Regions from separate parts of the Homo sapiens genome. Here all the other regions are linked to region 3. Evidence: promoter capture Hi-C in 16 types of primary human blood cells and fetal thymus (Javierre and others, 2016). All regions are on one chromosome and are shown on one strand. The core of a region is centred on a gene start or on the middle of the fragment in contact, and the rest is flanking DNA. Distances in the headings are between cores, read along the strand shown. Region 1 overlaps THUMPD3 (THUMP domain 3 tRNA guanosine methyltransferase). Region 2 overlaps TATDN2 (TatD DNase domain containing 2). Region 3 holds the start of TTLL3 (tubulin tyrosine ligase like 3). Region 4 holds the start of GHRL (ghrelin and obestatin prepropeptide). Region 5 overlaps IRAK2 (interleukin 1 receptor associated kinase 2). Region 6 overlaps IRAK2 (interleukin 1 receptor associated kinase 2). Region 7 holds the start of THUMPD3 (THUMP domain 3 tRNA guanosine methyltransferase).

Region 1 (3,811 bases), core at 993-3,492, 430 kb after region 3:
GAACCCGGGAGGCAGAGGTTACAGTGAGCCGAGATCATACCACTGCACTCCAGCCTGGGCAACAGAGCAGGGCTCTGTCTCCAAAAAAAAAAAAAGAATCATTTATGCTGAGAAACAGAATGAGAACCAAGTCTTCTACCACCTTTTTGTGTAGGATATATAATTCAAGAATGGGCTAGAAAGTGAATTACAGGTAATTTAAAAATGAACCTCCCATGATGGTCAGGATTCCAAATGTAGTTAATACATTCCTGAGTTCTCGGAAGAAACATAATGGGTGAATCCATCATGTTGTTAAGTGAAAAACAGCTCTGCTAAGTCTGCTAAAATTCAAGATTTTTTTCCTGACTTAGAATAAACGCAAGGAAAATAATGACATATTTAGAAGACAAGCAGGTACTAGTATTTCTCACCTTTTTCCAAATGGCAAATCTGTTACAATAATATCCACAGAGCCAGTTCTCAATGGCAGATTGCAGATATCCCACTGAACAGCATCTATGGGCAAGCCCCAGGAGGGTTTGCTGTGGGGACAAAGGAAAGGTGCTTCAACATACTGTGAAGCATAAAGTTATTACAACAATTTTTGTTTCTGAAGAGAGACTGCTACAGCAAAACATAAACTGCTAAGGATATCAGTGATAATATCAACCTATTCAAAATTTAAGAAATGGCACAAAGGTAAAAAATAGGTCAGGCTGGGCATGGTAGCTTGTGCCTATAATCAGCACTTTCAGGGGCTGAGGTGGGAGGATCACTGGACTCCAGGAATTTGAGACCAGCTGAGCAACACTGTGAGACCTTGTCTCTAAAATACTTTTTTAAGAAGTTAGCAGGGCATGATGGCACACACCTATAGTCCCAGCTACTCAGGAGGCTGAGGTGGGAGGATCACTTGAGTCCAGGAGTTGAAAGATGCAGTGAGCTAGGATTGTGCCGCTTTACTCCAGCCTGGGTGACAGAGCAAGACCCCCGTCTCAGAAAAAAGGGAAACAAACTGAAAACATGATTGTAATGCAGAGAACTGCAAAAGACAACTTTAAAAACAATGCTGAAGCAGTAAATTACATAACCGATGATACAAAAATTTAAGTTGCTGATAAAACATACACTGGAGAAAAACAATACTAAAGAATAGATAATGGGGTGATGTATCTGAAGAATAAAGTTTGTAAAACTAGTAATAACAGGAGGCCTAAAAGAAAAACAGATAGTAAAATTGGCAAATATATAGGTAATTGTTTCAAGATGAAAAACCAAAAGGAAAATATGTGCCATGCTATATAAAACAAGACTAAGAAAAAAGTTAAGATAAAAAATATAGATGACAGAAGACAGAATGAATAATAATAAATACAAAGGATTTAAATCCTCCTCATTAAGGCAAAGCAACTGGTTTAAGAAACAAAATAATGCACAGGCTAAGAACTGAAGATAAGTCAAAGGTTATCAGCAGAAATTAAGGATTTAATTGACATTTAATGAAGAATTTAAGAAAAAAATGCAATAAAAGCAATCATTACATAATTTTTAAAAGTACACATAAAATATGTATTATAACCGCATACCAATAACTGCACAAAACAAAAGGCAAAAAATATTAAAAACCAAAGTAAAATGGATAGAAATGTACAGGTTGAGGCCGGGCACAGTGGCTCATGCCTGTAATCCCAGCACTTTGGGAGGCCAAGGTGGGCAGATCATGAGGTCAGGAGATTGAGACCATCCTGGCTAACATGGTGAAAACCCGTCTCTACTAAAAATACAAAAAAAAAATAAGCCGGGCATGGTGGCGGGTGCCTGTAGTCCCAGCTACTTGGGAGGCTGAGGCAGGAGAATGGCGTGAACCCGGGAGGCGGAGCTTGCAGTGAGCCGAGATCAAGCCACTGCACTCCAGCCTGGGCGACAGAGTGAGACTCCGTCTCAAAAAAAAAAAAAAAAAAAAAAAAAAAAAAAAAAAAAAAAAGTACGGGTTGAACAGACAGTGTAGGTACAAACAAGATAAAATATTCAGAAGCTAGAAAGGTACGTTTGTTTAAATGTTTATCAGTTTTAATTAAAAAAAAAAAAGACTGGCCATATACTAGGCTCATTAAAAAAAACCCTCAATAAATATGAAACAACCATTCAAAATTAATTCATCACAATAAATCAGTATTTAAGAAAATTGAAGCCTTCCAACTACTTGTCTTAATACACGTAAAAGGATTTAATGTTGATACATAGACCAGCAGCATCAGCATTGTCCTGGAGTTTCCTGGAAAATGCAGACTCTTAGGTCCCATCCCAAACTACTAAATCAGATCTGTGTTAACAGTACTCCTAGGTGATTCACATGTACATTAATGTTTGAGAAGCACTGTCCTAAAAAATTAGATCAGAGAGACAATGAAATATATAACCAATGACTTAGTAATAAAATAGAGGCGAGGCTATATAAACTGCAGTATTTCTATACGATGGAATTTATGTAGTGACTTTAAAGACTATGGTCCAGGTGTGGTGACTCGTCTCTAATCCCAGCAATTTGGAAGGCTGAAGCGGCAGAATCTCTTGAGGCCAGGAGTTTGACACCAGCCTGGACAAAACAGCAAGACCCCCATCTCTACGAAGATTTTAAAAAATTAGCTGGGCATGGTGGCACATGCCTGTATTCCTAGCTACTAGGGAGGCCAAGGCAGGAGGATTGCTTGAGCTCAGTAGGTTGAGGCTACAGTGAGCCATGATCATGTCACTGCACTCCAGCCTGGGTGACAAAATGAGACCCTGTACCCAAAGCAAAAAAGAAGCCTATGTAAAAATATACTGTTTAAAATTTTGTGAAATTAAAATGAGTCTATAAAATATTCTTCCAATATGTAGGGGAAAAGACATATGAATAAGACAAATGAAAAATTGCATATGGTGGGGAAATTATCGCTAAAATAATATTTTAAAAATATAACTTATTTTCAATAAACTTTAAAAATGTAAATGGAGTCTCATAGTATATTCATTTTGGTTACAATGACGTCACAATGCACTGGGAGTTTTAATTCATAAAGTCAATATAAAAAGTGATTCTCTAACTCTAAAAGATGCTAAGAAATCTTTTAAATTTTTACCCTTCTTTAATTTGGCTCTTGGTCAATAAAGATGCAATGTTATTTGCTGCTCTATTCACAGCCAGTGGATTATTATCACCAGCAATATGGAAACAGTCAGACCATTCAGTGGCCCCCTAAAAGATAAGAGTGTATGTTAAAACAAAAGTAGCAAACTGTAAAATATGATTAAATTGTCAACAAACAAAGAAAATCCAGTGCTTTTCTAGAGTGGCAAAACATTGCATGTTGTCAACTGTGCTATTTCCCTGGCTGAAAATGCCCTCTTATTCTTTCTCTGCTTGCTGAACCTCTACCCATCTCTTAAGACCCAGCTCAAACCTCATGCCCTTTCAACATCAACCTTAACTCTCCAAGCAGTCTTATGTGCCCCTCCCAAAAACACTTTGTATGTACGTACCTCTGCCACTGCACTTGTCCCACGGTTAATTATTTCTTCCCCTTTATGCCTCTCAACTAACCTGGGAGCTCTCTGAGGTCAGGTCTAGTATTTTATTCAGTTCCTCATCCAGCAGTGTCTGGCACACTAAATTCTAAGTTAATGCGGTTTGAAAATATTTGAGATTTGTGGTTGTGGGAGTTTACATAATCTGATATATTTGAAAATTGCAAAATAAAATGCTATTTCCGGCCGGGCATGGTGGCTCACACCTGAAATCCCAGCACTTTGGGAAGCTGAGGCAGGAGGATTTCTTGAGCCCAGGAGT
Region 2 (4,190 bases), core at 148-2,647, 450 kb before region 3:
CAGTGAACCAAGACCAAGCCATTGCACTCCAGCCTGGGTGGCAGAGTGAGACTCTATCTCAAAAAAAAAAAAAGAAGATAAAGTTGAAGAAACCATCCAGAAAAATTTTTTAAAAAGGATTCACTGGGAAGAAAAGAAAATTGGAATTTCCATCCGAAAGACCAAGCATAAAATAGATGGTCCAGAAAAAGAAGAAACAGACAAGAAATCAAATAATCAAGAAATTTTCCCAGAACTTTTCTAGGCTAAGGATGTACTGAACAAATTCGACTTATTTTACTCTTTCCTGAAACCTCACTAAAACTAAAGAATCTAAAAACCAAACAAAAAACAAATAAAACCCCTCTACAATAACAAAAACACCAGAACAGGAAGAACAAGAGACTACAGTGATCACGCACTGGAGGCTAGAAAGCAGATGGCCAAATAACACCTCACTGGCAGACCAAGAGAAGGCTGAGACCTAAGCTAGGCACCAGGAAAGCTTAGAACAGAGCAGGCACTCGCGGTACTGGGCACCTTGGGAACTGGAGGAACTGGAGTTACAGAAGAACATTAAAAGGAGGAGGACAGGGTGAAATCTGGTTTCCAATGAGTTAGATCCCAGATTCCCTCCTCATACTCAGAGAAGGTGAGTTGTTTGAAGACAGTAAAACAAGAGGATCTCTAGAATAAGGCCTGGTCAGCTCAGTGGAGGGCACTGGTACTGCACCAAAAAGACAAAGATTAAGTGAATGCTGACGCCGCCCCCGCAGCCGCCCCTTTCGCTACCCAGCTCCCAGCCACCTTTCCTCCTAAGCAGGCTGAAAAACACTCCTCTGGGCAAGGTGACCAGTCTCGAGGCTTTCCTAAAAGCAGTGACATGGCAAGGGGAAGAGGGTTATATTCTCCCGATCATCCCAAAGCAAAGCTCAAAGTCTTTACGCTCAGAGCTTCCAAACAGCTTTTTAATCCTCCCATTCTTGATCATAAACAGACAACCAAAGATTACCAGACATGTGAAGGCAGCCTCTAACACAGAAGAGATCAAAAGAAACGGAAAGAAGCAACTTAAAGAAAACTAAAACCAAGCCAAAAAACTACCATGAACTCCCTAAAAGAGATAACAGAAGATGAAACAAGAACAGAGATGTTATTAAAAAACAAAAGAGCTCTTGGATAATAAAAAGCATGACAGTAGAAAAGTAAAACTAAATAAACAGCTGGGTTGGAAGATAAAGAAAAGGAAATATCCTACAAAGTAAAGCAAGAAATTGGCTAGAAACAAGGGAGAAAGGCAATAAAATTACAGGACCAGTCCTGAAAAATCCAACATCCAAATAAGAGAAAGAAGGTAGAGAAGCTAGAGAGAGAAAGAGAGAAGAAAAATACGGAAAGAAAACATCAGCGAAGTACAGTAATTCACGAACTTTTCCCACAGCTAAAGTACAAGGGTTTCTAGATTGAAAGGGAATGTCCCATGCTAAGCAAAGTAGACACCACCACCATGAAATTTCAGAGCCCTGAGATCAAAATATATTCTACAAGATTCCACAGAGGGAAAAAAAAAAAAAATACAGGTTGGGCACGGTGGCTCACACCTGTAATCCCAGCACTTTGGGAGGCTGAGCCGGGCGGATCATGAGGTCAGGAGTTCGACACCAGCCTCACCAAAATGGTGAAACCCCATCTCTACTAAAAATACAAAAATTAGCCGGGTGTGGTGGCACATGCCTGTAATCCCAGCTACTCACAAGGCTGAGGCAGGAGAATCGCTTGAACCTGGGAGGTGAAGATTGCAGTGAGCTGAGATCACGCCACTGGACTCCAACCTGGGTGACAGAGCAAAACTCTGTCTCAAAGCAAAAGAAAATAAAAAATAAAAAATCATATACCAAGGTTCAGGAACCAGCATAGCTTCAGACATCAAGAAAACCAGAAGAGGCCAGGCGAAGTGGCTTACACCTGTAATCTCAGTACTTTGGGAAGCCTAGGCAGGTGGATCACCTCAGGTCAGAAGTTTGAGACCAGCCTGGCCAACATGATGAAACTCTGTCTCTACCAAAAATACAAAATTAGCCAGGTGTGGTGGCGTGTGCCTGTAATCCCAGCTACTCGGGAGGCTGAGACAGGAGAATCACTTGAACCCAGGAAGTGGAGGCTGCAGTGAGCCAAGATCACACCAGTGCACTCCAGCCTGGGCAAGACAGAACGAGACTCCACCTCAAAAAAAAAAAAAAAAAAAAAAAAGCCCAGAAGAAAAGGAGCAATGCCTTCAAAATCCCAAACAAAACAATTTCCAACCTGGAATTCCAAAACCAACCAAGCTTGTAATCAAGGTTAAAGGTAAAATAAAGGCAATCTCAGACACATGTTTACCAAAAAAAGTTTCTCCATGTACCCTTTCTCAAGAAGCTACTAGAAAAAGTATTCCACCAAAATGTGAGAGTAAACCAAGGAAGAAGAACATGAGAAGACACAGAGTATAGGTAGCAGAAGACTCAATCCGGGAGAAATGTGAAGGAGGCTCCAGAGAGACAGCTGCCAGCTGGCCTGACGGCAGGCAGTCCAGACCAGAGCAGGACAACAGAGGGCTGAGGACGTATACCTCCAAGAGAGAAAAAAAAGAAACAGATTCCTTATTTTGACAGTATTGAGAAGGATTTTACAGCTCTCGCAGTTTGGGGATTAATTAGTGAAAGGTACCAGGAAAACCAAAGGAAAAACAAAGTAATGATGAACTTTAAGGAAAATGAAGTTTTACAAGAAAGAAAATGTGATCAGAGTATACAAGGCGACTCAGCTGTGAACATGGCAGTAACAAATCTTACACAGACTTAACCCAAAAGGTATTCAAGCCACACAGGGAGGCTGCAGAAAGGGGAAGCTAATGTGTCCCTGGGTGTGGGTGCTTCTGAAGGAGGTATAGAGAACTAAATTCTCATCGCCCAAGCAAGAAGTCCTCAGACATCTAAAACTGAAAAACTGATCAACAGTAAAGATTATTTAGAAACATGGGGTAAGTACTAGAAGAAAGAGCTAAAGATGAGAGAAGCTGCCTGCAGAGCAGTAGTAAAGGATGGGTGGAGACGAGTAAGATGGAGGAATGTGGCCTGGCACAGTGGCTCATGCCTGTAATCCCGGCACTTTGGGAGGCCAAGGCAGGTGGATCACGAGGTCAGGAGTTCGAGACCAGCCTGGCCAACATGGAGAAATCCCATATCTACTAAAAATACAAAAATTAGCCGGTTTGGTGGCGCACACCTGTAATCCCAGCTACTCAGGAGGCTGAGGCAGGAGAATTGCTTGAACCCAGGAGGTGGAGGTTGCAGTGAGCCAAGATTGCACCATCGCACTCCAGCCTGGGCAACAGAGCAAGACTCTGTCCCAACAACAAAAAAAAAAAAAAAAAGAAAAAGATGGAGGAATGCTTCCCCTCAATTATAAGCTATGTTAAAAATCACTAGTTTCCGTCCAATGACATCCTTCCCTTCTTCTCTGGTTATCCAGGTACAAGTCTGCCTAGATAAAGGCTGATTTTCCAGACTCCCTTGCAGCCAGGTGTCAGCCGGGTTTCCCCGCTCTTGTCAACAGCAGATACAACATGTGCAACTCTTGAGCCAAGCTCTTAACAGGGAAGGAATGCACTCTCCTCTTCTCCCCTTCCCACTGGCCAGAATGCCCAGATAACAAACCCTGAGTCCTATCAGAGTATCCATTTCACACCAAGAGATGGACACTGTGTTGAGGGGTGATAGAGAATCAAGACAAAAGGTACCAGTATCTCTGACATGATGGAGCCATCCTTCTTAAGCCAAACTTATATTCTGTTTAAGCCACTGTGATTTTGGCCTTTTACACAGCAGCTAAACCCATATCCTAACATATAAATCCTTCAAAAAAAAAAAAAAGCACTTAGTTTAGGTTTATTAATAACTCTGAAAATCTGAAAAGTATGTTAGAAGAAAACCATCAGTTTGTTCCCTGGAGGCCTGGTTAAGTAAAGTACTATTTTTAATTAGTAACACTTAGGATCAAACTAGAAAGATGGAACACATTTCATCAACAGAACTAAAAAGTCAGATGCCTGGTACAAGCTTTACTCACCTTTTGGATTTCTAAATGAGAGTCAGAGTCATCCAAGAACTCTAGGGGTGGAGAGCATTTGTCAATGACAGTCCTTCGGTCCCCAAGGGGCTCCTCACTGGGTT
Region 3 (4,291 bases), core at 508-3,007:
AGCAGGGTGCCTGAGGCCCCATAGTGGTTAAGCAAAAGAGCAGGGATTTACATCCTGGCAGTTTGGCTCCAGAAACTGCATACTTAATGGGATCCAGAGAAACTACTTAGAAATACATGGTCAGGGAAGGTTGAAAGGAAGCCATGAATGTACAGAGCTGGGAAATGGCGGTTCAGGCAGAGGGGAATGCATGTGCAAAGGCCTTGAGGCTGGAGAGAGGTCAGAAGGAACTGAAGGGAGACCAGAGTGAGTGGAACATGGAAAATGATGGGGAAAGCCCCAGAGGAGGTAGGCAGTGGCCAGACTGTGGAAGGCCCTGCAGGCCTTGGAACGGACTTGGATTTCATACTAAGAGTGTCATGAGCAAAAAAGGCTAACTGAGGGAATCTTTCTAAGCTTGGCTTGCTGCTGTATTACAAAAAGATGAGGGGACAGGATGGAGGTAGACCAGCTAGGAGGCTGTCATAGTTTGCCTAGGAGAGAAATCACAATTACTAAAATGAAGGTGGTTACAACACAGACGGGAGAAGGTGCTAGAGTTGAGAATCGTTTTGGAGGTGGAGATGACAAGTGGTTTTGCTGATGGAATTAGACCTGTGGGTGAAGAAACAGAAAGATGAGATTTCTGGCGTGAGGAACTGAGAGATGGGAAAGACTGGAGACTGGGGAGGACGACAGGTTTGGGCAGGAAGATCAAAGTCTGGTTTGGGACATGAATTTGAAATGCTTGTTAAGTTTTCTGGGTGTAGATGACAGGTAGGGGCTAGATCTACGGGATGTGGAGTTCGAGGCTGGGCTGGAAGGGGCACGGAGAGGGTGCAGCACACTGACTGGACTCAGCCAAGGACACAGCCAAAGGAGACAGACCTGGGGAAGGGGCCAGGGGGCCACTAATGGCTGAGGAACCTTTAAAGGCCGCTGAAAAGCAGCAGCCAAAGAGGGAGAAAGGAAAACTAGGAGCGTGCAGTCAGACAGCCAAGAGGAAGGGTGTGTGGGGCAGCGGTGTCGAAAGATACAGGGTGCCCAACCGAGATCAAGACCGAAAGGCACTGCTGGGTTTGGCTCCCTGGAACTCACCAGGCACCTTGATTAGAGTGGGACATCGCAGGGAACCAGAGTGGAGGGAGCCCAGAAGTTTGGTGCTGAAGGGGTAAACGGGGAGGTAGTTGAAGATGGGTGTGGTGGTTGAGGATTTTTGCTATTGTTTTTTCTTTTGCTTTTGTTTTTTAAGGATATAAGAAAACAGCGCAGGGAGACAGGCTGAGCCGCTCCCAGGGCCCTTTCTAAGCGCCCCTGCCCCTCCTCTGACCTTGACAGCTCTCTCCACGTAGATTTTGGCGTTTCTGAGCCGGTTCATGTGAGACGCCTTGGAGGATCCTCGCCAGAGGACCGGGAAACCTGCAGAAAGATGCGGAATAGGGGCGGGGTACACTGAGGCTGGGCCTAGGGTCTCGGCCTAGGATCTTTTCTGGCCGCCCATAGCCACGCCTCTTTTCTTCCTCCTGCCTTCATCCAGATGCCCACCCTCAGCCGCTCTTCTCCCGACCCCCAGTCCCTCCACCCCAGCGTCTTGTCGTCCTCGCAGCCGCTGTAGGCCAGAGCGAGCGGGCCGCACGGGCCTCACCATCCTGCGGAGAGGGGTCGAGGACCGGGGTGTGCGGGGGGCCGAGGGGGTGGGTATCCGAGGCGCCCTGGGCGTGGGTGCCTGGGACCAGCGTCTTGAAGGCGCCGCTGAGGCGGCGCGCAGGGGCGGGGCTGCCCGCCTGGCATCTGCCGCCTGCGTGACCCTCCTCGGACTGGGCGGAGGCAGGGCCGGCCCATGGCAGCCTCCTGGGTGGACGGAACTCGGAGCGGCGCGCCGAGGGGAAACTGGTGCGTGGCTCGAGCGGCTGCGGCTTCCGCAGCCAGTTGCACACCGCGCCGCCCTCCTGGCGGTACCAGGAGGCCGAGCCCCGGCGCCCGGGCCCCAGCTCCCTCGCGCTCAGGAGCAGTGGCGCGTCGGGGCCCTGCATGCGCCCCTCGCCGCGCTCGCCCTCCCAGGGCCCCTGATCCCGCGCCCCTCCGCGTCGCCGCCTCCTCTCCCGGGAAGTTCCTGCCTAGGCTCGAGCCTTGTCCTCCGTTCCAAGCCCCGCCCCGTTTGCTATTGCCTTGGAAACCATTCCCTGGGCACCATCAGACCGCTCGGGGCTGGTTGGGGGCTGCGATGGGCCCCGGGGCAGTCGAGCGAGGGCTTCCTTATGACCTGGGGCCTCACCCAGACCCTTGATGAGCAGGGCACTGAAGGCGGAAGAGAGCACTGAGCCCCAGTTAGTTAGTGTTGCGGTTCCTTATCCAGTACTTCCTGGTGCCACCGGCCCTAGGGTTTGAGTGATTCCACAGTATTTATAGGCGCTAACAAATGGCCCCTGACCTCATGGAGCTTACTAAAAGCCCAGTGTGAGGGGAATAAAAAGCAAGTAACAAAGGAAGAGAATAGTTTACAGGTATAATAAGGGCAATGAACAAGCAGAGGTGAAACCAGGAAGGGGGCGCATTTTAGATAAAGTGGCGCATTTAAGCTGAAGGTGTAAATGCCAGGAGTCAGGAGTCACCAGGGAAAGGGGAGGAACTGCACTTCAGGGAAGGGACAGTCCCAGCAACAGCCCTGAGAAGGGTAAGAACCTCTGTGCGAACTACAAGACAGCCAGGGTGGCTGGAGCCTGGTGAGGCCAGATCAGACCTGCTGGGCCTGGCAGATGGGCCTAGGGTAAGGTCCTTAGCGAGGGCAGCATATGGGGGTAACAAGAAGGTGCAGAGCACACCCTCCCCAGAAACTGGAAATGGAAAAACAATCATTTGAGTCAACTGCGAAAGAAATGTAATAGTTCACAACAGTTATGCCTGGCCCCCAGGCTAAGACTGTAAGCAACCTTTTTGGAAGCACTGGCAAAATATTATCCTCAAAAGTCACAGGGGAGGTAAGGCTCCAAGATGTTAAACAATTTGCCTCAAATCACAGAGCAGAGGCAGCACTGGAACCCAGGTCTGACTCCAAAGCCTGTCTCTTAAACACCTGTTATCACTCAGGTTGCCTGCCAGTCACAGAAGGACCACACAGGGACAGTTTGAGAGGCAAACTCTAGCAGTGCCCCCGCAGGCAGAGTCGAAGAGTGTCCTGGTAAGAGCCCAGCTTTGTCAGTCACTGGGTAGATGTGCTCTTAAGAGTGAAGGTGGATCCCCCACCTTCCTGTCCAGCTGACCCCAACTCCCCTTTAGCTGATGGCTGGACTTCCCGAAAAGCATGCCCCCCAGGAAAGGTGATTTAGGGAATTTGGACCCTGGGAGAGAGATACATGACAAATGAGGTTTGTGGCTGGCTCACCCAGGCAATGCTGTCCTGTGAGGGTTGTTGAGTGACCAGCTGCTATATCCTATTAGTCACCCAGTTTCACTGTGAGCACCTTTAACATTCACTGCAAAGCTAGAACATAGCCATGTGCCCTGGAGGAGGGAACACCTAATTCAGAGGGGTGGCGAGGTAGGTCACAGAGGTAATGTCATAAAGGAGATGATAGCACTTTGGGAGGCTGAGGCGGGGGGATCACCCAAGGCAGCCGAGGCAACATAGTGAGACCTAAAAAAAAACAAAAACCAAAAACAAAAAAATTAGCTGGGCGTGGTGGCACAGGCCTGTGGTCCCAGCTACTCAGGAAGCTGAGGTGGGAGAATCACTTGAGCCTGGGGAAGCTGAGGCTGCAGTGAGCCATGCTTGCGCCACTGCACTCCAGCCTGGGTAACAAAGCGAGACCCTGTCTCAAAAATGAAAAAAAAAAAGGGGGGGGGAGGAGGGGGGCAATAGCTGTTCCAAGTTGCCCTTACCCCCTCCTCCCTTTAACATCACCTTGTCCACCCCATCAGAAGAAACCCCTCTGGCCATCTGGAGGAATCCCTTTTGAAAGCTCAGCTCAAAGGTTCACCCTTCTTGAAGCTTACCCTGACACCCACTCCTATATTTACCCCTTGGCCCCCAGACTTCCAATATTAAATATGAAACACTTCAGTGAACCTTTTACACACCCAGCCCTTTTCCTGGACCTCCAAGCCTCAAGGCAAGGATAAACATCATGAACACTGGAAATTATTCAACAGCCCAGCCACTGGGCTGGTGGAAAAAATATAGTTCAGTCAGTACCTGTGTAGCAGCGACCGTATCAGATTGTTTATATTCATTATCTCCACTTCATAGACTAAGAAACTGAGACACAAAATAGAAGTAACTTAGCCAAATCTGGCAAGAAGAATCAGGACTCAA
Region 4 (3,942 bases), core at 284-2,783, 480 kb before region 3:
CAAGGTCAAGTTTTGAGGGGCCAGGACACAGCAAAGAAGAGGACACAAGGAAAGGGGAAGGAAATGGAGATGGTAACACGAGGGGAGGGTGGGATCGGTGCACAACAGACGTTTTCAGGATTAGGAACCTGGGTGTATTTTAAGGCAGAAAGCAGAAGCCACTGGAGGGGAACAGAAGACACGAGAGAGGCAAAGTGTTAGAGCTTTGGCCCCAAGATGGCCGGAGGCTAGGGAAGCCCCAGTGAGAGAGGCAGAGCTTGGCGAAGAGGAGGGATGAGAGAGCATGGCTAAGGTCAGGGAGGATTTAAGAGCGATGGCCGCCTATCTAGAATGAGCCGCATGTGGCTGCTGAGCATTTGAAACATGGCTAGTCCAAATTGAAATGCACTGTAAGAACACACACTGGATTTCAAAGACTACACATCTGTAATCCCAGCACTTTGGGAGGCAAAGTCAGGCAGATCACTTAAGCCAGGAGTTCAAGACCAGCCTAGGCAACATGTCAAGACTCTGTCTCTACAAAAAATACAAAAATTAACTGGGTGTGGTGGTGTGACCTGTAGTCCCAGCTACTTGGGAGCCTGAGGTGGGAGGATCATCTTAGTCCAGGGAGGTGGAGGCTGCAGTGAGCCATGATAGTGCCACTGCACTCCAGCCTGGGTGACAGAGCAAGAACCTGTCTCAAAAAAATATATATGTATATTCATTTAGACATATGCTGTTGCACACTTAGACTATAGTATGGTATCAGCATACGTTTTATATTTACTGGGAAACCAACAAAATTCGTGTGACTTGCTTCATTGTGGTCTGGGACCAAAGCTGTAATGCCTCCAAGGTATGCCTGTATATTTCTATTGCAAAATGTGAATCTCGAAATTATAAAAGCTACAACTAGGACAAAAAGCAACCCCACCAAATAGCCCTATATCAAAGAATAAAATCTCTTTCTAGAACCCCAGAATTTGCCTCTTTCAGACTGAAGTTTAGCCAAATCTATGAAAAAAGAGCTTGCTAAACCAACTAATTATCAGTACAAATAAAATTATAATGAAAAGTCTATGAAGATAATTTGTTCTCAGATGCCCTTCACATATAGCAATTAATTCACAAATGATGAGTCACTCATGTGCCTTCATGAAGGCAGGCCCTCAAGAGACCCGCAACAGAAAGGAAAGCCACCGACTGGAGAGAACCTGCTTCCTGAGCCCCACCAAGTTCCAAAAAGGAGAATGGGGCTTCGTCCTCACCCTCAAGGAGTTGCCAAACTGGGCTTGGTTATTATTCACACTTGAAAAGAATGAGGAAGGTCAGCCAGTCCCCTCCAGGTCGCTCGGGCTTCCTCCAAGCTCCTCTTGGTTCAAATTTGCTGTGTCCTCCAGCCGGCATCTCTCCTCTGTTCCGTAACTGACAGGGCAGCGAGGTAGCTTCCGGATGACTCCTCCCGCCATGGTTCTTCCGTCCATCAGCTCTTCCTTCCTCAACTCTGTGGTATGTGGCTAGGGGAGTTTCCAACTCCCAGGGGACATTTCAGTTCCCCAAAGATAACACAGCTTTGCACAGTGGATGTTTACTTGCTGGTGGTCTTATCTAAGATCAACATTGGCAGCTGTGCCCGGAGAGGCCTCCAGGGTCCAGGTAAGTGGAGGCTTCATGTCTCAGGAGGTACCTGGTCACCACAGTTAGGATTTTTCTGTTTGGGGATTTTTTTTTTTATGGGTTGGTGGCTCTGAAAAAGCTGCAAGTCTTCTCTGAGGACTACAGACCTCTCTCCACCCTCTCCACATTCAGCCTCTCTGGGCTCCAGGGCCAAAAGATGTCTACACTCAGGTGGCAGACAGGCCTGTGAAGACCTCCTGGTGACATGCTCATATGTTGCTGGGACTAAAGGTGGGATTTTAGCCACCACAGTGGGTTGGTGGTGAGATGTTTACCAACAGGAGGTACTTTGTCCCTCATGTCCACTTAAAGATTCAGTCCAACCCGGCCTGTGCTTCTGCTGTCCCAAGAGACTCTAGAAAGCTCCAATCCTCCCTGAGGTTGATCTTTTAAGTCAGGGTAGGTGGTCATTCGGCAATCAACTGCTCTACTGCCTCAATGTCCTCCTCACTGGACGTCCTGCCCCAATTCCATCCTGTTCAGCGCAGACTGATTTTCCTGGAACACAATGTTCATTATGGAGCCAGATGGCATATCAGAAAGAGCACTGTATTAGGAGTCAAGAGATCCATGGGGGAATCCCAGCATTGCCCCTGATGGCTGTATAGCTTTGGGGAAAGTGAGGCCCTCTTGGCATTCAGTTTTTCTTCCAGCGAAATAAAGGATTCAGCCTCCCAGAGCTTTAAAGTCTTTCCAACTCTTTCATTCATTCTATGGTCTCTCTCTCCTCAAGAATCCTCAGTGGCTGCCCTCCTGCAAAAAAAGCCCAAACTTCTTGGGCTAGCAGTTCCCAAGGCATCCATCACCTGGCCCCAAACCACCTTCTTATGTTTTTGTTATGACCCCATCGCCACCCTCCCCCAAGCCACCCAGCCTTCTCCATGCTGCCCTGATGTACTCTACCCACGCCTTCACCTCCCCTCTGCTTGCCGCAAAGCCCTCCCTCCAAAGCCCTGCCCCGAGTTCACCACAGGCCTCTTTCCTGGAGCCTTTGCTAACATCCCTGCCGCAAGCCCCAGCCTAAGGTGAGCTCCTCTCCTGAACTGCTAGAACTTCTCTGCAGACAACTCATTGGCCCTTAGGGGTTCCTGCCTGGGCACCCAGTTGGATGAAGCACTCCAGAAAGGAAGAAATTCCTGGGGCCGAGGGAAATGAGGCAGTGGCCTTGGCCTATGCTGGGAAGTCCTATGGGCCTGGTATGAAACCATTGTCATCTGCAGGGTGTTTCACAGGTTAGAAGCCACTTTCCCCCCATCGCCTCATTTCACCCTCAAAGACTCTGGGTAAGGGGAATTATTTGTGGTCGGCGTAAGGCCAGTCAATGAGAGAGGAGCCAGGCCCGTGCTAAGCGTAGATCTTCCACCTCCAGGTCCAATGCACTTCCCTCTCAGAAGAGGCATCCGCTAAAATAGGGACCAAAGCTGCTGGAGGGAGGCAAGGCAAGCTGCTATGTGAAAAAACGCCAGGCCAGGCAGTCATGTCACACCTGGCAGAAATGACTGAAGCATAGCCACTGGCTGAAGTTATCCCCACACCCACTCTCTGGAGAGGATGATCAGGAGCAGTCTGCTCAACCGGGAGGTGGGACTCCTCCTCGGGAAGGTGTAGAATCACCAGCCTGGCTCCCTGCGGACTCCCGGGGCTCACAGAGGCCAGAGCAGCAACAGCACATGGGAAACAACGGGGCGCTGGACTGGGGAGGTCTCAGAGCTCTCCTAGTGATGACAGCCTCATTTTACCCAGGGAGAAAGGGCGAGTAAGCTAAGGTCACACAGCAACAAAGCTGCACCCAGACCCCAGAGCCACTCTCCTCCCTCCCTCCTCCACCAGGGCCATGCCCACTTGGGGCACCCCGCCACCGTGTTCCAGGGACAGCTGGAGCACATGCTTCTTCCCTCGCCAACCCAGCAATTCCGCAGGGCATCTGACCTCCACTGTTGACTTCTACCCAGAGGACAAGAACATTTTTAGTTCCCAAGGAATGTACATCAGCCCCACGGAAGCTAGGCCACCTCTGGGATGGGGTTGCTGGTTTAGAACAAACGCCAGTCATCCTATATAAGGACCTGACAGCCACCAGGCACCACCTCCGCCAGGAACTGCAGGTAAGCTCTCTCTACTCTCCGTGTGCGTTTGCTGACAGGTTTATTGTCCGTGACTGCTGCCCGTCCGTTTAACCTCTCTGGGCCTCAGGAGTCCCCTCTAAACACGGGGGATGTCGGACTGTCTGGCTGGAAGACAGAGCTTCATTTAGGAGCTACCTCTAACCCCCTCCCTGCTGAG
Region 5 (4,050 bases), core at 1,012-3,511, 380 kb before region 3:
TTGCCCTGGGGACCCCTCTGGCTCCAGTGAGCAGACGATGAATCAGCCCTTCATGAGATTCAGATCCACCTCACTTCTGTTTTTCACCAACGAATGTCCACGTTGTGTATTGATACGTTCAATTCAAGCACCCTCCCCACAACCCTGGAGATCTCAAGTCAGGAAGCTGAGGCTCAGCGGGGAACAAGACCTGCCCAAGGGAAACAGGGAGGCAGGCAGCACTGAGGCAGGAAGGCGGGGTCTCCTCCCAGAACCACTGACGTAAGGGCACCCAGAGAACATGCACTTCTCTCCCAACCTGGGCTCCACGGGCACTTCAGTGGTTCTATAGGCCACACCCCCCCATCCTGATTGCCATCAGGCCAAGGCCTTTGTGGCTGAAACTCGGAGTCTAGAAGCCAGTTTCTCTCCAACAAGGGCCTTGCCTGCAGGAATCACAGGATCACTGTCTGCCTCATGGCATCCCACTGCCTTCCACAGGCCCAGGAGGAGAATAAACAGTCCCTAGGCCGGGCACAGTGGTTCACACCTATAATCCCAGCACTTTGGGAGGCCAAGGAGGGCAGATCACCTGTGGTCAGGAGTTCTGGACCAGCCTGGCCAACATGGCGAAACCCCGTCTCTACTAAAAATACAAAAATTAGCCAGGCGTGGTGGTGCACACCTGTAGTCCCAGCTACTCAGGAGGCTGAAGCAGGAGAATCGCTTGAACCTGGGAGGCGGAGGCTGCAGTGTGCTAAGATTGTGCCACTGCACTCCAGCCTGGGCAATAGAGCAAGACTCTGTCTCAAAAAACAACAACAACAGAAAACCAGTCCCTTGTACAGAATGACAATGAACAATGTCGGGGTGAGTGCTGATTCAAGCACGGGTCTGGAACAGAGCTGTCGCTCCCAGGGTGCACAGAAGTGAAAGCTCTGCCTGTGCTCCCTTGGAAGGCTACCCCCCGCCACTCCCAGTCCTCATCTTTCCCAGCCTCCCCTCTCTGGCAGGGAGAGACTGCCTCTCTCCCTCCACCCTCCCTCCTCAAACTGCCTCAAGTGGGGCTTATGCTCCTGGAAAGGCTTGTCATCCTTGTGACATCTGTGTCAAAAGGGCAGCAGTGGCTCCCCTGGCTCAGGGCCGGCTGGGCTCGCTGAAGTCACTTCCCAACAGTGACCTCCTGCAGAGGCCAGGCCCGCAACAGTATAAAATGCTCCCTAAAGGTCTCACCTACACCCAGAACCGCCCATGATCCCAGCAAATGAGGCACCTTCTCCTTGTCGGAGGCCTGCCTGGCTGAGCCTCATTGTTCTCATCACAGTAAAACGGGGATGAGGGTGATACTTACAGCCTTACTTAACTTCAGTGTCCTGTTCCTTTTTTTTTTTTTTGAGACAGGGTGTTGCTCTGTCACCCAGGCTATGCAGTGGTGTGATCACAGCTCACTGCAGCCTCAAACTCCTGAGCTCAAGCTATCCTCCTCTCTTAGCCTCCCATGCCGCTGGGATTACAGGCAACACCACGCCCAGCTAATTTTTAATTTTGTGTAGAGACAGCATCTCACTATGTTGCCCAGCCTGGGCTCAAACTCCTAGGCCCCAGTGATCCTCCCACCTTGTCCTCCCAAAGTGCTGGGATTACAGGCCTGAGCCACTGCTCCCAGTCCAGTGTCCTATTCAGGGTAATGTTTTGTTCAGCACAAATCTTTGCCTCTCTGTCAAAACACATTTGGCAGGAACATCAAGGCCACCAACCCATTTGTGGCCGACCTCTGTGGGCTCCACCCGTGGGGAAGATAAAAAATGTCATTATGTTTTCATCCTAAAGAGAGTCCAGCTTTTCTCTTTCTTTTTCTTGTTCCTTCTGCAGTGACATGCGGTGGCCCCACCTGGCACCACAGGGCATTTGGAAGTGAGCAGGAGTGAGGAACAGATGGGGAGGGGCGGTGTCGGCAGGGCTACCTGTGACCAGACCTGTCAGCACACTTGGGGCTAACATCCACCCTCCCACACAAGAGGCACCAGGTCACACCAGCCACGGATGTAAGCCAACAGAGCCCCATGTCAGCCCCAACAAGAAGTTCTGGTTTCCTGTGAAACCCCCATCTTCTCAAGCTTTGAGTTTTTAGATGTCTTTAAAATGCAAGCAATAAATGGTGCGTATAAACATGAACCGCCCTCATCTCCACCCTGGAGCTGCCGGCATGGTCTGAGCTGGGTGGACAGGCAGGCCCATGCATGCCTGTCCCACTGTCCAAACATGAAGATGGAGAAAATGGCCTCTGTCCTCATCCCTCCAAACCTGCTCCCTGCTAGCTAGAAAGACGCAACGCCCACTCATTCAGGCTGGCACACCAGAGAGCTAGTGAAATAAAAATAGAACACCAAAGGCAGGATGAGGCAAAGGAGGCCAAATGCCTACAAGAAAGGGCTGTGACAAGCTTTAACTCTCGCACTGAGCTTCCTATCTGCCAAGGCCAAGGCTCAGGAGTGAGCTGCTCACGGACTTCTTATCACAGATAGACAGGGGCAGCCTCAGGCTTCCAAGACAGCACTCTTTCCTCCCAGGATTAAATTCTCAAGAGAATTCCACACATAAAGTTGATTCTGCAGGATCATGAGATCCAAAAACACAGACTGTGATCAAAGAGTAGAACTAGGATCACAAGAGTAAGCGTGGGGAAGCGTCGGCTCTGGCTTGAGCCAGACCCAAGCTCTGCGATTCCAGCTTCACGCCCAGGCACAGACCTCCTAACCCTCTGAGCTTCATGCGCCTCTCCTGTGGAATCAGAATAATAACCCCACACCTCCCAGGGCCGTCCCAGGGCTCCATGATGACAAATGTGAAGTGGCTGGCCCAGGGCAGGGGCCCACAACACTGTGCAAACAGCCACCCTCCTTCAGTTCTGCCAGAAAGGTGCAGATAGAAAAGAACCTCTGATTCCCAACTCGGGCCTCCGAAGGAAGCATTTAGGGTGGAAGGCTATTTTTAACATTTTAAACACTCTAATGGAAACCGATTCTAGGTGGGCAGCAACTTGGTGCACAGTCCCGAGAGGTACAGTGGCCATGAGAGCAAAGTAACATAGGAGCCCAGCAGCAGGGGAGGTGGGGGCCTGTGCCCACGCCATTGGCAGCCAGCCTCAGTCACACACTGGAGGTGGGCAGCCCAGGGTTCTCCCTGCTGGGACCCCCAGGGATAGGAAGGGGACGCAGGTGACGGAAGGAACAGCTAATCTATAGCTTAGGTGGCCACAGGCACCAGAAGGTTGACACGGCAGTTCTCAGACAGAGTCTGGATTTTTTGTTTTTGTTTTTGAGGCAGAGTCTTGCTCTGTGACCCAGGCTAGAGTGCACTGGTGCAACCATAGCTCACTGCAGCCTCTACCTCCCAAGTTCAAGCAATCCTCCCACCTCAGCCTCCCAAGTAGCTGAGACCACAGGAGCACGCCACCACGCCAGGCTAATTTTGTTTTTGTTTTTGTTTTTGTTTTTTTTTGGTAGAGACAGGGTTTTGCCATATTGCGCAAGCTGATCTCAAACTCCTGGGCTCAAGCAATCTACCTGCCTTGGCCTCCCAAAGTTCTGGGATTACAGGTGTGAGCCACTGCACCCAGCCTGGAATCTGGATATCCGTGAAAGCTGCCTTGCTGAGGCTGAGAACCCACAGTGATGAGGGCTGAGTCCCAGATACAAGGAGGAAATGGGGGAGGGGCAGAAGCGCTTCTCTGTGCCCCTGTCATGGTTCACCAGAGCTGGTTGCCAGGCATGATTTCTTTTTCTCTCTGATTTGTTTTCGGAATGCCTGTGCTCTTCCTAATGAGCATGAATCACTGATGCCACGGAAGGCAAATGAACTCCCGCAGTCTGGAGTGTGTCCTGCAGTCAGGCTCACCAGCAGGGGGATCCTCCTAAGCCTTGGCTTCCTCATCCGACAAATGAGATGTGGAAGTGGACCCCCGACCCGAGACCAGCCATGAGGATAAAAAAATTAACACCCAGCAGATCTAAGCTACCATCATTTGCTATAGTCTCGCTCTGTTGCCCAGGCTGGAGTACAGTGGCACGA
Region 6 (4,315 bases), core at 856-3,355, 400 kb before region 3:
GGATGGAGGGGATCAACTTATCCAATGGAAACTGTAAAAAGGACATGGATAGGCCGGGCACGGTGGCTCACGCCTGTAATCCCAGCACTTTGGGAGGCCGAGGCGGGCGGATCACGAGGTCAGGAGATCAAGACCATCCTGGCTAACACAGTGAAACCCCGTCTCTACTAAAAAATACAAAAAAAAATTATCCAGGCGTGGTGGCGGGCGCCTGTAGTCCCAGCTACTCGGGAGGCTGAGGCAGGAGAATGGGGTGAACCCAGGAGGCGGAGCTTGCAGTGAGCCGAGATCGCGCCACTGCACTCCAGCCTGGGTGACAGAGCGAGACTCTGTCTCAAAAAAAAAAAAAAAAAAAGGACATGGATAGGCCCAAGCTCAAATCCCAGCTCCATCTGTATCTTGCTCTGTGACCTTGGGTGAGTTACTTAACCTCTCTGAGCCTCAATTTTTTCCATCAGCAAAAATGAAGGTAACAATAGTACCCCGAAGAGTAATTTTGAAGACTAAGATGTGAGTATTCCTGGCACATGGTTGATGTTTCCTTTATTTCAGTTTACAGAAGTAAGCACTGAGGAAATAAAACAGCTGAAGTGAGGTCCCACAGCTGGTCAGTGGCCGAGCTCAGCACTCTTGGTCTAATTCACAGCATAGATACTGGGGTTCCAGACTCCTGGGAAGTAGGATACAGGTTCATATAACCAAACCAGGGGTGTCCAATTTTTGACTTCCCTGGACCACACTGGAAGAAGAATTGTCTTGGGCCACACATAAAATACACTAATACTAATGATAGCTGATGAGCTTTAAAAAAAAAATTGCAAAAAAAACTCATAATGTTTTAAGAAACTTTACAAATTTGTGTTGGGCCACATTCAAAGCCATCCTGGGCTGCACACAACCATGGGCAAGTAAGACAAGCTTGCTTTAAACAGAATTCCAGAGACTGCATGTGTATATAAGCCTATAAAAAGAAGTTCTGTTTCCGTTTTTAATAACTTCTCTCTTTAAAACACATGTACGTAATTTTTTTTTTTTTTTTGAGACAGAGTCTCGTACTGTCACCCAGGCTGGAGTGCAGTGGTGTGATCTCGGCTCACTGCAAGCTCCGCCTCCCAGGTTCACGCCATTCTCCTTCCTCAGTCTCCCGAGCAGCTGGGACTACAGGCACCCACCACCCTGTCCGGCTAATTTTTTGTAATTTTTTTAGTAGAGATGAGGCCTCACCGTGTTAGCCAGGATGGTCTCCATCTCCTGACCTCGTGATCCGCCCGACTTGGCCTCCCAAAGTGCTGGGATTACAGGCACGAGCCACCGCGCCCGGCCTAAATTTCAATTTTTTTAAGTTACATATGCTCTTAACAGTTTTTGAAAATTAGTATCCATAACCCCATTATCCATTTAACTGCTATTAAAGTTAGTGTATTTCCGGCCAATTAGATATACTAGGATTTATTTAACAAAACTGGTATCATGCCACACACATAGTTTTGATTTCTTTTTGAGACAGGGTCTCACTTTGACACCAAGGCTGGAGTGCAATGGCATGATGTCAGCTCACCGCAGCCTCAACCTCCCAGGCTCAAGGGATCCTTTCATCTCAGCGCCCCCAAGTAGCTGGGACTACAGGTGTGTGCCACCACGCCTGGCTTATTTTTTAAACTTTTTTTTTTGGCGAGGCCAGGCACAGTGATTCACTGCTTGTAATCTCACCATATGTGGGAGGCCAAGGCAGGCGGATCCTCTGAGGCCAGGAGTTCAAGACCAGCCTGGGCAATATGGTGAAACCGTGTCTCTACTAAAAATACAAAAATTAGCCAGGCGTGGTGGCACACACCTATAATCCCGGATACTCAGGAGGCTGAGGCAGGAGAATCGCTTAAACTGGGGAACCAGAGGTTTCAGTGAGTCGAGACAGCCTGGGCAACAGAGGGAGACTTTGTCTCAAAAAAACTTTTTGGCCAGGCACGGTGGCTCATGCCTGTAATCCCAGCACTTTGGGATGCTGAGGTGGGCGGATCACATGAGGCCAGGAGTTCAAGACCAGCCTGGCCAACATGGCGAAACCCTGTCTCCACTAAAAATACAAAAAAAAATTAGCCAAACATGCTGGCATGTGCATGTAATCCCAGCTACTCAGGAGGCTGAGGCAGGAGAATAGCTTGAACCTGGGAGGCAGAGGTTACAGTGACCAAGATCGTGCCACTGCACTCCAGCCTGGGCAATGGAGCGAGACTCCTCAAAAAAAACACAAAAACAAAAAAAACTTTTTTGTAGACACAGGATCTCACACTGTTGCCCAGGTTGGTCTCAAAGTACTGGGCTCAAGTGAACCTCCCATACCAACCTCCCAAAGTGTTGGGTTTATCCTTCATGGAAGGTTGATCTATTTATTAATTTAGAGATGGGGCCTCCCTGTGTTGCCTAGGCTGGTCTCCAACTCCTGGGCTCAAGCGATCCTCCCACCTCAGCCTCCCAAATAGCCAGGACTACAGGCATGTGACACCACACCTGGGACATGGAAGAGCTTCATTAACCACACTCATGCAAAGCTGGCTTCTCCCCCAGGCACTGGATGCAAAGGGTCTAGGCTCACAACACTTTTAGGGGCCATCAGAACATTTTAATTTATTTTAAAATCAGAAGAAAATAAATGGACTTTTAGAGTCAAAGAAATGTCCTCATTTTTAATCCTGCTTGGATTTTATTTATCTTCGTACCAATATGGTCATACATTTTTGGAGACAGGGTCTCACTCTGTCACCCAGGGTGGAATGTGGTGGTAGGATCACAGCTCACTGCAACTTCTGCCTCCTGGGCTGAAGCCATCCTCCCGCCTCAGCCTCCCAAGTAGCTGAGACCACAGGTCGAAAATAAAATAAAATAATAAAAGAAAATAATGGCCGGGTGCAGTGGCTCATGCCTGTAATCCAAGCACTTTGGGAGGCGGAGGCAGGTGGATCACCTGACGTCAGGAGTTCGAGACCAAGCTGGCCAACATGGTGAGACCCCGTCTCTACTAAAAATACAAAAAATTAGCCGAGCATGGTGACATGCACCTGTAATCCCAGCTACTTGGGAGGCTGAGGCAGGAGAATCACTTGAACCCGGGAAGCGGAGGTTGCAGTGACCCGAGATCGTGCCACTGCACTCCAGCCTGGGTGGCAGAGCGAGACTCTGTCTCAAAAATAATAATAATAACAAATTAAAAAACAAGAAGTATATTCACTGAAGTGCCCTCCCTCCCTCTCCCCGCTATTATTGACCTCCTCTACTTACAGTCTTAGAAGCTTGGGGTAATTTGATGGCAATTTCCTTTCTCCTCTCCACCCTTAAACTGGTCTCAAGGGGTAGAGAAATTGCATTTTTGAGAGGGAACTACACGCTGGGAGACATGGCTTGGGGGCTGCAGCCGAGGGGTGGATTTACCTTTGAATCAGACGAAGTGGGGAGGTCGCTTCTCAAGGAATGAGGGGCATCTTCTTCAGGAGGCTGGAGAAAGGCCGGCTGGTGGGCTCTGGCTGGAGAGGACCCTGGAAAGGAGGGACTATGGGTCAGGATGCAGCCTCGGGGAGGAAGACAGGAGGGATCCTGGTCTAGTCCTCAGACTATGCCAGTCTCCTGTTCACTCCCCAAACACTTGTTGCTGCCAATTCCTGACACCCACCATGTGCCAACCAACACACTCCTCAAGCATCACCTCAGGATAAGCCTCTGACTCCCCTACAACCTGGGGCCTGTTTATCATCCCAGTTGGCAAGTGGAGACACGGAGACACCGGAGGTAGACGCAGTGCTCAGGACCACCCAGCCAGTAGATGGTAGAGCCGAAATTCAGACGGAAATCTGTTTGACTTCTAGGCCCTGCACTATCTCACCTCCTACTCAAAGAGCAGAAAAAGACACAGAGGTGAACTAGCTACCAAGCCTGCCTTCCAGAAACCTCCACCAGGGCAGGGATGCAGTAACTATCCTCCGAGGATACATCCCACGGGAGAGCGAGGTCAGAGGCAGGAGAGACCATAACAGGCTGGGAGATGAGGAGGGTTCACAGAGGAAGTGGCACCTGACCTGGGCTTGAAATATGGAGAAACGTTTTCAACAAGCAGATATGGGGCAGTGGAACCAGCCCATGCAGAGGTGGGGCAGTAGAAGGGCCCGGGGCTGGAGTAAGTTAACATCTAGGTACATGAGTTAGCAAACATCATGCCAGGCACTGTTCTAAATACTTCACATCTGTAATACCAGCACTTTGGGAGGCTGAGGCAGGAGGATTGCTTCAGCCCAGGAGTTTGAGATCAGCTTGGGCAACATGACAA
Region 7 (4,093 bases), core at 1,457-3,956, 450 kb after region 3:
ATTAGCCAGATGCGGTGGCGGGCGCCTGTAGTCCCAGCTACTGGGGAGGCTGAGGCAGGAGAATTGCTTGAACCTGGGAGGCGGAGGTTGCAGTGAGCCAAGATCGCGCCATTGCACTCCAGCCTGATGACAGAGCAAGACTCTGTCTCAAAGAAAAAGAAAAAAAAAAGAAATGCTCAACTGGCAAGTATAATGCAAATATTCCAAAACTCCCCCCACCCCCCTCCAAAAATCTGAAACACTTTTGGTCCTAAGGGATACTGAAACTACAGTCAAAATTACAAATCAGTACTCAATAGAAAATGCAGTAACTTTAAAATCACCTGATTTGGGGCAGAGCAATGAAAATCAGAAAGGATTCCAGAAGGGTCTATAAAATGAAAAGTAACCATAAAATGATCAACTTAGAAAACTATTTTAAATATTGCTCCATTCAAACCTGTGCCAGACTTTCCACTGAAATGACAAAATATATCTTGCCACGGTCTCTGCTGATTTTGCATGATGACCCAAGTTTCTCTCTGACTTCATCTGCAGCTGTTTGCTCAAAGCCAGTAGGTACAGTGGCTCCAATAGTGACTAGAAGCTCAGATTCACTTCCGAGGTCACTTTCTGTCACTTGTACAGACTTCTGGTTCTCATGAAGGTTCACATCTAGGAGTTGGTTAGTGGCTTCTTCAATGTCACACATGTTGGCTGTGCTTCCAAGATCCCTAACACTGTCTCTTTAAAAGCAGTACTGTCCTTTAAAAGAAAAAGAAATAAAGCCCAAATATTATCATCTCATATTTCAGTTATAATTAAAAACATGGGCTCTGGAGGGCAGGAAGAACAAGGCAACACATCTGATAAACAGTCACCAAAGTAAAAAGGGTTGAATAAACATGGGCACAGAGTGCAGGCTGTAAAACATGATGTTATTATTAAAGAAGCAATACAGATACCATGGGAGAAAAAGAGACAAGAAGTATTTCCATAGCATGCAATGTTTGCTTTGGGGTAACCCATGTTGACAAAAGCCATTTCATAACTACGACAGAAACTGCAGATCACATTCAAATCCATTTCTGCATCTAGATGTTAAGAACATGGTTAGTTAAGAATATAGGGCTTGGCTGGGCGTGGTGGCTCACACCTGTAATCCCAGCACTTTGGGAGGCCGAGGCGGGCAGATTGCCTGAGGTCAGGAGTTCAAGACCAGCCTGGCCCACATGGTGAAACCCCGTCTCTACTAAAAATACAAACATTAGCCAGGTGTGGTGGTGGGAGCCTGTAATCCCAGCTACTTGGGAGGCTGAGGGAGGAGAATTGCTTGAATCCGGGAGGTGGAGATTGCAGTGAGCTGAGATCATGCCACTGCACTCCGGCTGGGGTAACAGAACAAGACTCTGTCTCAAAAAAATAAATAAATAAATAAAATAAATAATAATAATAATAATAATATGGGGCTTTTGGAGTTTCAGATAGATACAGGTTTGAATTCTTGCCTCCACCATCATAGGTTGAATGACTTATGGCAAATTAATTCTCCCAAACCTTCAAATGTAATTAAGTAATTAGTAATACCTCTTTCCTAGAGTCGTTAGGAGACAAGTGAGAGTAGTACCTGGTTAGGCCAATAATTAAAACTTATTAATAGGCTATCTATCTTCTTCCCTCCTGTGAAATAGCATTTCATGCATTTAAAAATGATTAACTGGGCTGGGCACACTGGCTCATGCCTGTAATCCCAGCACTTTAGGGAGCTGAGGTGAGTAGATTGCTTGAGGCCAAGAGTTCGAGACCAATCTGCGTAAGATGGCAAAATCTCATCTCTACCAAAAACACAAAAAATAGCTGGGCGTGGTGGTGGGCGCCTGGAGTCCAGCTACTTGGGAGGCTGAGGTGGGAGGACTGCACTCCAGCCTGGGTGACACAGTGAGGCCCTGTCTCAAAAAAAAAAAAAAAAAAAAAGAAAAAATTAAAAATAAAAATGGTTAACTGAATACTTACTATCTAATGATTACAAATGTTCAAACGCCTACTACTTGCCAGACTCTGGGATCCATAGATGGGCATCAGGAGAGAGATCTTGGAAGTAATCCGAAATAGTAAAACAAATTTCCTATGCATAAGCTTTTGTGTGTGCTTGGGGTGGGGGCCGGGGGAAGTATTAGAGAGGTGGAGGGGCCATAGCTTACACGAGATTTTCAAAAGGTCTGTGACTCAAAATAACTTAATTGAGTACAGAATACCTATAATGTCCTTGTGCTGTGCCAGCGATACACGACAGTGTTTAACACTACGTCAGTTCCCGCCGTTAAAAAGCTGACAGTCACTGTGAATACAATCTCCATCTTCTAAAAAATGCAGCTGAGGTCAGCTAAAGGACGCGTTCCGCACAAGGTCAGAGAGCCAATGAGAGGCGCAGAATGAAAGAGAACTCACGTCTCCCAACTCCCACCTACAGGGCCCGGGAATCCTAGGGAGCGGGTAAAGGCCTGGGAGAGGGAGCAAGATGGGCTCCGCCACGAGATCCGCCTGAAGTCCGGCTCGGCGCCGGCCTCAACTGCAAGAGGAAGGCCACCCCTCTCTCCCCAAGCTGAAACACCAGAAGAGCCACACTCGGCCGTTCCCAACCGCCGCCAGTTACCGGCCGCCAGCGAAGACCCTTTCAGCTCCCACACTCCATTGGCCTCTTGCGGTCAGGTCACGCCGCCGGAAGCCGCCCCCGGAAACGGAAGTCAGGCTACGAGTCACGGTGGCTCCGCGCTGGCGGCGGGTTCCCCCACAAGGTCTTGGGGAAAGGAGCATGCGCTGGAAGCTGTGTGCTGTTGGTTTTGAGGATCTTCAGTAAGCTGAAAGCGGAGAGTCAGGGGCCTTGTGTCCTACCATGGTATTTGCTAACGTTTAGAGAGTGCTTCCCCTTGCCGAGCACTGGGTAAGCGCTTCACATGCGTCATCTCATTTGGAACAAGTCTCTTTTGTTCTAGCACCTATGAAGTGGCAGAGACTGATTTCTGTTTTAAAGCTGGAGACACCGAGTCTCTCCAGCTTATTTAAATATCTTTCTCAAAATGTCATGCCACTAGTTCCTGATTTCTGTATTGCCATCACTATTTTAGCACTGTTTACTTCATATTTTTCTTTAGTTTAAAAAAAATAGAAATAGTGGGGCTCACTATGTTGCCTAAGCTGGTCTCGAACATCTGGGTTCAAGTGATTCTTCTGTCTAGCCCTCCTAAAGTGCTGGGATTACAGGCATGAGCCACTGTGCCCAATCAGATGAACTTTATTTCTCATAAAGGGTTGAACCTGGCCGGGCACAGTGGCTCATGCCTGTAATCCCAGCACTTTGGGAGGCTGAGGCGGGTGGATCACTTGAGGTCAGGAGTTTGAGGCCAGGCTGGCCAACATGGTGAAACTCCATCTCTACTAAAAATACAAAAGTTAGCTGGATGTGGTGGCCTGCACCTGTAGTCCTAGCTACTTGGGAAGATGAAGCAGAAGAGTTGCTTACCCAGGAGGCAGAGGTTGCAGAGAGCCAAGATTGTGCCACTGCACTCCAGTCTGGGAGCAAGACATCATCTCAAAAAAAAAAAAAAAAAAAAAAAAAAAGAGTTGAACCTGCATGGTAGCCATTTTGACAGACTGGGAAGCCTAGCTTCCAGTCAGAAGCCAAAAACAGGCACTTCCAGGGTTGGAAGAATAAGACAGGGATTTATGCTAAACACAGTGGCCAAATATACATGTTAAATAAACTGTAAGAGGGGTCACGAATATTTATGAAAGGAGCAATTTGTGCATGTGCAGTTGAGCTTCATGCCTCTCTGTGGATCCCATGTTTAAAAAATGGTGGCCTTAGCATGATCCAAGGGTAGAGTTTTCTACCGCTTGACTTCAAAAGGTGAAGCAGGGGATGTGAAAACCCTCACTGCACGTCCTCTGTCGACTGGCCAGAACCACTCCCTGGATGGTGGGTGATCTCTTATCAGGAAGGAATGCTAGTCGGTTGTTCTATTGAAACTGCAAATGGGAGGGTCAGCATCAGGCTGGTGGAGTGAGTCTTTCAAAAGGGCTGGTTTCTGTTTAACCCTTAGGAAAGAAAATCTAA

Evidence for each region. The method cuts DNA at HindIII sites, captures the fragments that hold promoters and counts their contacts. A CHiCAGO score of 5 or more calls a contact.
Region 1: a fragment that was not itself captured here is called in contact with the fragment with the promoter of TTLL3 in region 3 in 1 of 17 cell types (neutrophils); the score reaches 7.1 in neutrophils.
Region 2: a contact is called between a fragment that was not itself captured here and the fragment with the promoter of TTLL3 in region 3, in 13 of 17 cell types (activated CD4 T cells, total CD8 T cells, naive CD4 T cells and 10 more). The highest score is 10.4, in activated CD4 T cells.
Region 4: a contact is called between the fragment with the promoter of GHRL here and the fragment with the promoter of TTLL3 in region 3, in 10 of 17 cell types (activated CD4 T cells, erythroblasts, naive CD4 T cells and 7 more). The highest score is 10.3, in activated CD4 T cells.
Region 5: a fragment that was not itself captured here is called in contact with the fragment with the promoter of TTLL3 in region 3 in 4 of 17 cell types (total CD8 T cells, erythroblasts, naive CD8 T cells and 1 more); the score reaches 7.9 in total CD8 T cells.
Region 6: a fragment that was not itself captured here is called in contact with the fragment with the promoter of TTLL3 in region 3 in 2 of 17 cell types (monocytes and neutrophils); the score reaches 6.6 in monocytes.
Region 7: a contact is called between the fragment with the promoter of THUMPD3 here and the fragment with the promoter of TTLL3 in region 3, in 6 of 17 cell types (total B cells, naive CD4 T cells, fetal thymus and 3 more). The highest score is 10.2, in total B cells.

What each region holds. Positions count from the first base shown.
Region 1 is chr3:9,379,912-9,383,722 of GRCh38, reverse strand. It overlaps THUMPD3 (THUMP domain 3 tRNA guanosine methyltransferase), which reads right to left. Exons shown (of 10, transcript NM_001114092.2): 7 at 3,105-3,220; 8 at 414-524. Among named protein-coding and RNA genes, the nearest start is that of THUMPD3-AS1, 15 kb to the left of the region's middle. The HindIII fragment of the contact is 6,287 bases long and covers 1-3,811 here.
Region 2 is chr3:10,260,567-10,264,756 of GRCh38, reverse strand. TATDN2 (TatD DNase domain containing 2) reads right to left here. Exons shown (of 8, transcript NM_014760.4): 3 at 4,087-4,190. Among named protein-coding and RNA genes, the nearest start is that of TATDN2, 14 kb to the right of the region's middle. RefSeq lists a silencer at 633-822. The HindIII fragment of the contact is 1,822 bases long and covers 487-2,308 here.
Region 3 is chr3:9,807,728-9,812,018 of GRCh38, reverse strand. It overlaps TTLL3 (tubulin tyrosine ligase like 3), which reads right to left and starts at 1,757. Exons shown (of 14, transcript NM_001387446.1): 1 at 1,625-1,757; 2 at 1,310-1,398. The coding sequence starts at 1,357. The region is part of intron 4 of ARPC4-TTLL3 (ARPC4-TTLL3 readthrough); the gene reads right to left. RefSeq lists a silencer at 1,576-2,055 and an enhancer at 2,536-2,685. The HindIII fragment of the contact is 3,571 bases long and covers 399-3,969 here.
Region 4 is chr3:10,290,538-10,294,479 of GRCh38, reverse strand. GHRL (ghrelin and obestatin prepropeptide) reads left to right here and starts at 1,533. Exons shown (of 6, transcript NM_016362.5): 1 at 1,533-1,638; 2 at 3,029-3,764. GHRLOS (ghrelin opposite strand/antisense RNA) reads right to left here. Exons shown (of 6, transcript NR_073568.1): 6 at 1,031-2,412. RefSeq lists enhancers at 1,341-1,635, 1,446-1,695, 1,706-1,775, 3,287-3,889. The HindIII fragment of the contact is 7,186 bases long and covers 1-3,942 here.
Region 5 is chr3:10,192,872-10,196,921 of GRCh38, reverse strand. The region is part of intron 2 of IRAK2 (interleukin 1 receptor associated kinase 2); the gene reads right to left. Among named protein-coding and RNA genes, the nearest start is that of IRAK2, 30 kb to the right of the region's middle. RefSeq lists an enhancer at 1-197. The HindIII fragment of the contact is 326 bases long and covers 2,099-2,424 here.
Region 6 is chr3:10,208,804-10,213,118 of GRCh38, reverse strand. It overlaps IRAK2 (interleukin 1 receptor associated kinase 2), which reads right to left. Exons shown (of 13, transcript NM_001570.4): 4 at 3,427-3,530. Among named protein-coding and RNA genes, the nearest start is that of TATDN2, 37 kb to the left of the region's middle. The HindIII fragment of the contact is 2,369 bases long and covers 921-3,289 here.
Region 7 is chr3:9,361,667-9,365,759 of GRCh38, reverse strand. THUMPD3 (THUMP domain 3 tRNA guanosine methyltransferase) reads right to left here and starts at 2,706. Exons shown (of 10, transcript NM_001114092.2): 1 at 2,633-2,706; 2 at 440-744. The coding sequence starts at 691. It also overlaps a transcript of SRGAP3 not described here. RefSeq lists enhancers at 2,257-2,316, 2,337-2,416, 2,487-2,546, 2,767-2,976. The HindIII fragment of the contact is 4,632 bases long and covers 2,118-4,093 here.